2 separate regions of the Homo sapiens genome follow, and region 2 is linked to region 1. Evidence: promoter capture Hi-C in human tissues and cell types (Jung and others, 2019). All regions are on one chromosome and are shown on one strand. The core of a region is centred on a gene start or on the middle of the fragment in contact, and the rest is flanking DNA. Distances in the headings are between cores, read along the strand shown.

Region 1 (5,220 bases), core at 1,327-3,826:
CAAAGGTCACTTAGTTAATAAATGGCAGAGATGAGATTTAACTCCATTGATATAAACCACCCTCTCAATAACTTTCCCAAGCCCCAGTATCATCATCTGTAAATGCAGATTGTAATAGTACATGCCTCAAAGAGATGTTGTGAAAATTAGATGAGATTATGTTTGTAAAGCTCTTAGCCCAGTGCCTGGCTAGATGTTAGTTATCTCGTTATATCATAAGGCTAGAATCTCGTTATATCATATCTCAGTATAGAAATATTAAGATTATACAAGAGTCATGCATGTGAGAATGGGGAATGGGATGGAAACTGTGGGAAAGTCATAAATTCTCATTTTTCTGTGAAGTGGTTGGTCATGACAGCAGCTGGGAGGGAGCACAAAGAGAGTTAGAGAATCTGAAGGCTTGAGACACACTTTAAGTGGAACAAGAGAATGAGAGGCCTAAGAATACAATATGTGGTACTATGAGCTACATAGTAAATTACTTTTACTCAATAATTACGGTGCCTCAAGAAAATGAAACAAAGAAATACCTGCTCTGCAACTATTTTGAACACAACAATGATATTATGGGATATTTAAATTATATCACTGCCATATGAAGAATAAAGCAGTTGTTGAAAAATGCTCTTAAACTAAAATGATTTCACTACAACACATTTTCAAAGGAATATTAGTCTTGTCAGATAACAAAGAACAAACAGTTATCTCTCATTCTTTCATTCTCTCAATAAATATTTATTATGTACTCTCTAAAGGAAATATGCATTGTTAAGCCAATATGCTATAAATCAACCACACCTACAAATTGTTTTTAAAATTTAAATGAAATGAAGTTAACATGTTCAAAAGAAACAAAAGTCTACTCAGGTTAAAGAGTCATAGGCAAACCAACATACTCAATCTGAAGTTACCGTTTCTAGGAATAATGCAATTAAAATGGACTTCTGCTAAATACTACATGGTTGATAAACAACAGTGTCAAGTTAAATTTACTTATAATCTACAAATGTATTAGATAACTGCTGCCTTTTATTTTTGATTAGTTATATTCTAGCGAAATTATGACTAATTGATAAAGTTGTCCTTTCTTCCAAAGTAAAAAATCGCATGACAATATAGGAGATCTATCACCATGAATTAATTTATCTTCAGAAAATCTTTCACTGTTTTTCTTTTTTGCTGTCAATATTTGACAAAGTAAGCTTTGAGAAGGAAAGGAACTAAGGCATTATTTCCAAAATTATTTGATTATGAAAACTAGTTATTCAAAATTAATTTTGAAATTATTAAAGGATTTATAATTTTTAGAAGTCTGGATAGTTTCACAATCAAAAATAAAACTAATCTTAAGATTCTTATGTGAACTTCAACACAATATGAAAGTCTATTTTAAATGAACAGTTTGAGGTTCGAACACAGTAGCTCATACCTATAATCCCAGTGCTTTGGGAGGCCAAGGCGGGAGGATTACTTGAGTACAAGAGTTGGAGGCTACAGTGAGCAATAATTGTACCACTGCACTCCAGCCTGGGCAACAGAGGGAGACCCTGTCTCTAAAAAAACAATAAAAAATAGATAATTTCAATAGTCTATAAATCAGCAATAAAACCAAACTTAAAAAAAAGAACAAATTCCATTTGAGCATGGACTTTGATAATGAAAATACTCTGAATTTAATTAGACCTGAAACCAAGTGTAGTTTATTTTTTAAAATCATCTTTCCTGAAAAGGAAACTAACATGTGTGCTTTTAATATGAGAAATCTATTAACGTCTCACTTTATATTATTAGTTCTTATGTTGATGCAATTCAAGTTTATTGTTACCAGGAAATGTAGTCTATTTTTTTTCCAGAGGCTCAGTGAAATATTTGCTTTTAGCTTATTTTATAGCAGATACCTTTTACAATTATGGCTACTTCCTTTTAGAATTTAATGCCTTATTTGCAAACTTTAAAAGAAAATTAAAGTAAAAAATATGTTATTAATTAAAATATTATTTTGTACCCTATGTATTTGCTCCACAAAAAACTTTAATAAATTAAGTTAAAATTAAATAGCATGACATAAACTTAGAAATTAAGGTTTTATATTGAAATACTGTGTGACAATATTTTTACAGTAAAATAACTCCAGAAAATAATTTTTCAAATTTCTCACCCACATCCCTTCAGTTAGAGGTTTTTGATGGGCATTGATTGATGATTTTTTTCTTTTTTCCTTTTTCTTTTCTTTTCTTTTTTAAAAAACTGTTGTCATGGAAGGCAAACAACTTATTGACTTCTCTTCCATACTTCTATGTCCCACAAATCACTGTTCAGGATTAAGGGTTTGTGGAATGAACACCTTATACATGGGCAAATCACCAGATGGAAATATAAATATATGTAGCTCAGAAACAATTTAAAAAATTTAAAAGTGAGATTACATCTACTTGGGTAATTATAACAAAATTTCATTTTATTAAGTATTTTCCAAAGTTACTTAAATATTAAAATCTACCTGTAAAAAACCGTAAGCTCCTCATCCAGTCCCTGAAATGCTGCGTTCGTTTCAATTTAGAATCGAGATTGTTTGTCCTTCTAGAGCACCTGTAGGGAAAAACCGGTGTCTCTTCCTTGTGATTGGCTGTTGCCATGGATACGCTTTGTGTAGCGGCTATGGGCGCTGTCTTACAACAAAGCCAAGGAATCTCGCTGCTGAGGGGTGAGCCGGGGTCTTAAGACTGGGATTCCCGTTGAGGGAGGTGAACAGCTGTGGGAGCTCAGGCCGAGCCGGGACTCTCTCTGCCTGGCCAGACTTCCAGCAAAGGGAGAGACCGCGGGTCAGGGGATGGCTGTGCGACTCTGCGAAGCTCGAGGCTCCCTTCCACCCTGGAGATTTCGAGAACTCATTCAAAACTTAAAGAGATGTCTTGGCTATGTAGGGATCATTCGATGGTTACTCACTCACCGCTCCCCACAAACCAATTGACGTTATTTTCCTTCCTTCCTTCCCTTCTTGTCGCCCTCCTTTCCACCCTTTCTTTTTCTGTCTCTCTTTCTTTCTTTTTTTTTTGGTAATATATAATTTATATGAACCTTATAAAGTAGATTTCTCTCCCCTTTCTTTACAGGGGTTGAAGGGGGAGTTCCTTAAGCTTTTCTACTTTTGACAGCTTTAGTGAACTCCAAGTGATTCGTTATCAACTTAGAGCACTTTAATGTAGCCCATTTACAGTGAGACCCATCCATGACTGCACGTCATATACAGTAACCACTAACTGCAGGTGGCTACTGAGGACTTGAAATGCAGCTAATCCTAACTGAGATGTGCTGCAGGTGTAAAACACACAACAGATTTCTAAGAATTACTGTCCAAAGAAAGAATATAAACTCTTTGCAATGATATTAATAATTAATTTTGTTATTACACGTTGAAATATTTTGGATATATTGGGTTAAATAAAATATATTATAAAAATTAATTGCACTTCTCTTTTGTTTTTAAAAAGTTGCTAATAGAAAATTTAAACTTGCGTAAGTGCTCAAATATGTAATTGGACAGGGGTGATCTAATGAGCCAGTAGATGAACAGAGAAAGTCATGTAAAGGAAATGACTCTTACCTCCACCATACTCTCCTGCCTCTCTTTCTATATAAAGTTTAGTATACCCGTGCATTTTGCTTTGTAGGCATAAAAAAAAAATCTAGCTTTCCTTCTAATAAAGCTTTTTAAATGCACTTTGAGTTCCATTGCAGGATAATATTTTGCCCTGGTTCTGTCTGGAGTTCCATTTCACTTTGTTTTTCTTTTCTTTTCTTTCTTTTCCTTTTTTTATTTTATTTTTTATTTTTGAGTGAGTGAGTGAGGGTGGAAGTTATGGGTAGAACTGATTTTGAGATGATTGAGTAGAGTGAAAGGAGGAATTAACGAAAGGGAAAGAGGATGGAAAGAAGGAATGAAGAAAAGAACAAGAAGACAGGTGGAAAGGTCAGGCCCTTGAGTAAAGAAAGAAAGGTTTAAACTAGTGTCATGAAAAATAAAATGATAGCTGACTAGTACGTTTTCAAACCTTTTTTGGGACTAAGACCAACAGTGAAAAATAAAAAACAGAACATTAACAACAACACATATTACATTGCAACTCATGCATACATACCTACATTTATATGTATTAATAACTGAAACAAAAATTTTATAAACAATTCTGATCTTTATTATATATAGTAAAATTATATAAACATATAAATCAATAAGAGTATTAGCGTACAATTACAGTTGATCATTTTGTAGTCAAAGTTTAAAAAGAATGATTGAAGAGATAAAACAATGTTTGGTGTAACCATAATAAGGTGTGATAAAAGTTTGTTAAATTAAAACATATTTAAATAAATATGTTGGATTGGTATGACAAATTAGAGAACACATAATTTTTAGTGACATATTAGCCTCTTCATTTTTTAAAGCAGTTCTGTGCTTTATTATGAAGAATAATGGACGATGATGATGCAAAGCTCAAAGCAGAAATAGAAGCTGAATTGGATAAACTCAGCATTTCCTCCTTGGAAAAAGAAGACATTGAGAGTGATGCAAAATCAGAAACCCAGAGTGATGATAGTGATACAGTGAGTATTGCACTTTTGAGCCTTTTAACAGGAGTAGGCTTTTCAGGAGAAATATTACTTTTCTCAGGATGTTTTTATGTACTTCTCATTTTTAGCAGCATTGTTATAAACAATTTATATAAATATAAATTATATTGAATATATATAGTCACCTATACATCTTCGTAAAATTGGGATTATCATTATATATATTTATATCCTGATTTTTGTTTTTACTTGTGAACATTTTAGCATGATTAAATTACATGGGAAGAAAAATGTATATGAAATCTTTTGACATATCAAAATGGTTACTTTTGGAAATAAAACAAATTATCCTTTTATTTGTGTATATTTACCAATGTTTATATGCTTCAGAGTTTATTCATAGATTTATTCATTTATACCAATATCCTTAATCCAACTGGAATTTATTTTCAGGAATGTTATGAAATGTAGAACTAATTTGAAAATCTCCTGCACATATTGAGCTAATATTTCCAGTGTCTCTTGTTTAATAATCTAATTTTTCTCAATTGATTTATCATATGTCTTACTGATAGTTATTGTACATATGATCTATCCAAGGCTGTCTGTTCTTTTCCATTACTTTATTCATTATTTTCCTACTGT
Region 2 (5,220 bases), core at 1,178-3,677, 46 kb before region 1:
AAAATGGTAAAATACAACATTAATCAAGTGTTATCTTTAGTTTTGTTTTCTAATAAGAATGATAAGAAGTGATCTTATTTTCACTGCTATAACCTAGAACTGTGTCTGACTCCATAATTATGCTCTAATGAATTACTAAAGAAATTAGACCTAACTATGTAATTAAAACTATGGAAGGAGGCATACTGGTTGTATAAGGAGCAGAGAAAATGCCAGATAGCTTCAGAAATGAAGAAGAGATATGAAAACAGAGATAGTAATTGGAAAGAACACTTGAGAAGTTTGGCTACCAATGGGAACAACAAGATAAGATAGCTTGAAAAAAAGAAGAGATAATAAAAAGTTTTAAATTTTTGAGTTTAACTTTGCTTTTTTTTTTTCTTAAGGTAGAAGAAATTTGAATAAGCTTAACCGTTGATTAGAAGTATGGCAGATGCTACTTGTCCTCCAAAAGTTATTCTCTTTTTCTATAAAAAGTGTTAGCTTGGCACATGGCCAGTGAGTTAGAGACTAAATTTCTTAACTTCCCTTGCAGCTAAGTGTGGCTCTAGACTCTAGCCAGGGGTATACAAGTGAAAGTGATCTTCGCAACCTCCACAAGGCTTAGTTAAAAGCAAACTTTGTGCTCTCCACTTCTTCCCTTTCCCTCTTTCACAGGCTATAATGTGGTAAAATCGTGGGGACTTAATTCCATCATATGGAGGTTACTGAATGTATCAGAGACAGCCTGCAGTTCATCACCACACAAATTAGGTAAGAGAGAAATAAGCATTTATCTTATTACTAATGTCTTTATTTTAGAGTCTCTTTTCCCCCATGCTTCTTTAGCTTACATTTTTAGCCTAGGAAGGATCCAGTGGAGGGAGAAGTTAGAGGCACCATAGTTAAAATAAATAAGTAAGGTTCATAAGAAATTGTAAAAATAAAGAATCACACTGTATATTGCATATATGAAAATATAATATGTATAGCAGTCTTTCCTGGCTCTGACACTTGAGAGAAATTTCTTTTGAGATCCTCATATCTTCAAGATATATTCAAGAACATTTTAAAATACATATATTGTATTTTATACAACTGCTTATTTTAACATTCCTCAATGCCTATCTATGAACTAATGTCAAACCTTATTTAATAAATATGGCTCTGTGAATCTAAATTTATATAGAGACAGCTCTATTAATTGGTAATAGGATTTTTACGTAATAAAATTGGGCAATATACAGGAGCAAGTTTAGTACTAGAGGAATGAGGATGCTGTTAAGGATAAAGACATTTTAAGTACATATTGTGAGTCCTGCACAATATTAGGTAACTTAACTATATTAGTTTATTTAATAGTGATAATGATGCTCAGAGATAAATTTTATTAAATTAGGGTTTTAGAAATGTAGAGTCAGAGAGGCCATGTATTTGTCCATTGTCTCACAGCTATTAAGTGGTTTATACAGAGTTCAAAGATGAAATATCCAATTCCTAATTCTCTGCACATTTCACTAGTCTCCTGATAACAAAATTCTTATTTGAATTCTAATTCAAATGTCTATCGTCTTAAAAATAAAATATCTACTAATCCAACTCAAATATCTAATAAATTATCAATAAGTAGTTTAAGGGACTATAATTAATGGAATACTAGCTTAAAAAAATTGCTTATTCCATTTCATGCCCGTGTCTTAGGGGAATTATAATTAAATGTGATCCTACTCCAAGTCTACATACTAAGTCTGATTAGATTCATTTGTAATTTGTCCTAGCCACTAGCCATTACTTTGTCATAATCAGGAGCTCCTCTTTTTACAAACTTCTCTAACTTGCAAACTTTCAAGGCCGGGCATGGTGGCTCACACCTGTAATCCTAGCAGTTTAGTAGGCCGAGGTGGGTGGATTGCCTGAGCTCAGGAGTTCTAGAACAGCCTGGGAAACACGGTGAAACCCAGTCTCTAAAAAACAAAAAGTTAGCTGGGCATGGTGGTGTGCGCCTGTAATCCCAGCCACTTGGGAGGCTGAGGCAGGACAATCAGTTGAATCCAGGAGGTGGAGGTTGCAGTGAGCTGAGATAGCGCCACTGCCCTCCAGCCTGGGCAACAAAGCAAGACTCTGTCTCAAAACAAAACAAAACAAACAAATAAAAAACTTTCATAGATTTGAAGCTACTTTTCAGAACAAAAGTATGTCACCTCTGCTTGTTCCCAATAAAAGGAACATTCACTAGTGCAACACTGCTATGTCATTATAAACGAATTTAGAAACAACCTTTCATCAGTTACTGTTTTCATAGAAAAGGGAGCTTTTGAACACTTTTGCTCCAGTGTTTCTCAAATCTTAGCCGTCAGTAAATCCCATGACTGGTGCTTAGCTGGTAACAACCTTCAGAGAATAGAAGTTGAAAAGGTTACTCTGTAGTCAGACTGCTTGTTCAAATCCCAGATCTTTTCACGTCCTAAAAGCAGGTTACAGTGCAAGTTACTTCATGCCTCTCTGCCTCAGTTTCCTTATCTGTGGAAAAGGTTGTTGTGAAGGGAAAATGAGATGATTTATGTAATTACAGTTAAAGAATATTTAAGATGCATATTGGTTAAAATATCCTAAACTTTTGCATTTTATTTACACATATGCAGTCATTATTCTACCCAGACTTTGTTTTTTTCTTAAGAAAAAGTATTAACTCACTCAAACTACACGGTTATTAACAAATTTAAAAATTTTAAACTACTGTAAAAAACAGTTTTGAAAACATAAGATACACTTCTTAAATCTTAAGAGGAGATTTTTAAATATGTAGAAAGCTGAAAGCTTATACATAAAATGATGTTTCTTTATTAAACTCTAGTACTATACTTACCTTTGTCACAGCTTCGGTTTTTTAAAGTAATAATTCAAAGAATTTTAAATCTACACATATGTATGCACAGAAACACACATATACAGCATGTGCATAAAGCTGGAGTTTTAGCTCAATGCTCAACTATATCCATTGGTACAATTCACTCCTATGGCAGGTATGAAAGGGACAGTGTTTCATTATTTATTTATTTCACTGCTTCCAAACAAAGATTCACACACCAAATTATGGAGGTAAATTATGAATGATAAGATAAAAGCTAAGGCCTGGCACACAATGGCTTATGCCTGTAATTCCAGCATTTTGGGAAGCCAAGGTGGGAGGATTGCTTGAAGTCAGGAGTTTGAGACCAGCCTGGGCAACAAAACAAGACCCTATTTCTTTAAAAAAAAAAAAAAAAATATATATATATATATATATATATATATATAGACAGGTATGATGGCACACACCTATAGTTCTAGCTACTCAGGAGACTGAGGTGGGAGAATTGCTTGAGCCCAGGAGGTTCAAGGTTGCAGTGAGCTGTGAGGCACCACTACACTCCAGCCTATGCAACAGAGAGATCCTGTCTCAAAAAAGATTAAAAAAAAAGATAAAAAGATAAACTCTATAAGAAGAAACTAAACATAGAGTAACTTAAAAGAGGTTTCTCTTTTAATTGGTGGTCTGGTCCCATGTTCCTGGGTTCGCATGCCATCTTCGCTATCAGAGACTTCACTATTAGAGACTCAGATATTTTCCATCTTATTGCTCTGTCACCCCTAAAATATGGTCCTCGTCCACATAGCAAAAGGTAGTTTACCACCACATCCACATTTCAGCCGTGGGAAGGGGAAGGGAGATAGGGTACAAACTTTTATTTTTATGGGCATGACCCTATAGTTGAAAATATAACTTCCAATTGTATTCATTGACCAGAAAGTGATTACATCCACCACCTTAGCAGAAAGAGAAGCTAGGAATTGTAGCCTAAGCTAGGTAGGCATAAGTCTAGCTAAGGCTTATGTAGATGAAATGGAGAAAAGGAATTGGAGACAGAAACATCAGTCTCTAACATAGTACAGCAAAGCCCAATTCTTTTGAATCCACAGATTCAAAACTTGCTGATGATCTTGTTTGCCAACCTATTTTACTTTTTCTGAAAAATTTAGGTTTATGTACAGAACAATAAATAATGACTCTGAGAAAAATATTTTTCAGTTTATTCTTGAATACATTGTTTAATGCCATCTGAGCTTTCATTTTGAATGGAGAGTAAAGCATAAATAAAGCTCAGTTTAGGGGTTCAGCCTGGGAAAGACCCCCAGGCAGGGGAAGCAAAATGTTACTGTGGACTTAAGGAAAAGGAAGTTGGAAATAATTTTCAATTTTCAGTGTTAAAAAAGAGTCTACGAAGAATATGCTGGGCATGACATCTTGCTTTCTTTTCTCTACTAGGAGCAACGTAAGAAGAGAAAAAGAAAAAGGAATTACAGATTAAAAAATGCAAGAGAATATAAACAAATAAAAATATGTTCAACTGGAATTTGTATTGGGATTGTATTAAATGGATGAACTAATTTGTGAAGAAATGATATCATTCCATCCAAGAGCATGGAACTCCTATTTTTCCTATTGTCTTCTATGTTTCTTTTTAAAAAGTCTTAAGTTTTCTCTGTAGAGTTTTTTGCATTCTGGATGATTTTAATTGAAACATACTGTATAGATATTGTTACTATGATAAGTGGTGCCTCTTATTAGATTTTTTAATTCATTATGATTGGTAAAGCAAATAGGAAAGATTTTGAGCATAGAAAACTGCCTCAATTACCTCATTACTTCAAAAAGTATTGCCATTGGTTCTATTGCTTTTTAAAAAAATACATGATGATATCTTCTGCACATTATGAAATTTTATCTCAACACTTTCAATCACCGCATCTCTGTTTGACACTGATGAACATTTCCAAAGTGAAATATTTTGCTCTCTTTATTTTTCTCCTTTTGCTCTTTGGGGCCTCTTTACTTTCTAAACTTGTCACTTCTTGGTTTATCTTCCAAACCTCTTGGCTTTTCTTTTGTGTAGTATACTTTAGCTTCATTCTGGGAGAGTTTTTCATTCTGAACTTTTCGATTCACTAGTTTATTCTCCATCAGTATGTATGCTAATTTTTCTTCCATTGACTTTTTTTCCCAAACACTTATTTTTCATACTTTATATTTTCACTTGGAATTTTGGGGGAATATTTTGTTCTAGTTTCAAATTGATCCTATATTTTTTGTCTCCTTAAGTATATTTATCAGGCTTATTTTAAATTCTTGATTTATATGTTATAATAATGCTACCTTAGATGGCATATGCTGCTCAATTTTTCTTTCCTTTTTCCACTCTA

What was found. The method cuts DNA at HindIII sites, captures the fragments that hold promoters and counts their contacts. A contact is called where the count stands out against the background at its distance.
Region 2: a fragment that was not itself captured here is called in contact with the fragment with the promoter of TSPAN19 in region 1 in 1 of the 25 tissues and cell types used here (hippocampus).

What each region holds. Positions count from the first base shown.
Region 1 is chr12:85,033,701-85,038,920 of GRCh38, forward strand. TSPAN19 (tetraspanin 19) reads right to left here and starts at 2,577. Exons shown (of 9, transcript NM_001100917.2): 1 at 2,504-2,577. LRRIQ1 (leucine rich repeats and IQ motif containing 1) reads left to right here and starts at 2,651. Exons shown (of 27, transcript NM_001079910.2): 1 at 2,651-2,707; 2 at 4,453-4,608. The coding sequence starts at 4,477. The HindIII fragment of the contact is 3,053 bases long and covers 373-3,425 here.
Region 2 is chr12:84,988,285-84,993,504 of GRCh38, forward strand. It overlaps LOC102724680 (a long non-coding RNA gene), which reads left to right. Exons shown (of 4, transcript XR_945154.3): 3 at 658-753; 4 at 4,286-4,373. Among named protein-coding and RNA genes, the nearest start is that of TSPAN19, 45 kb to the right of the region's middle. The HindIII fragment of the contact is 5,317 bases long and covers 1-5,086 here.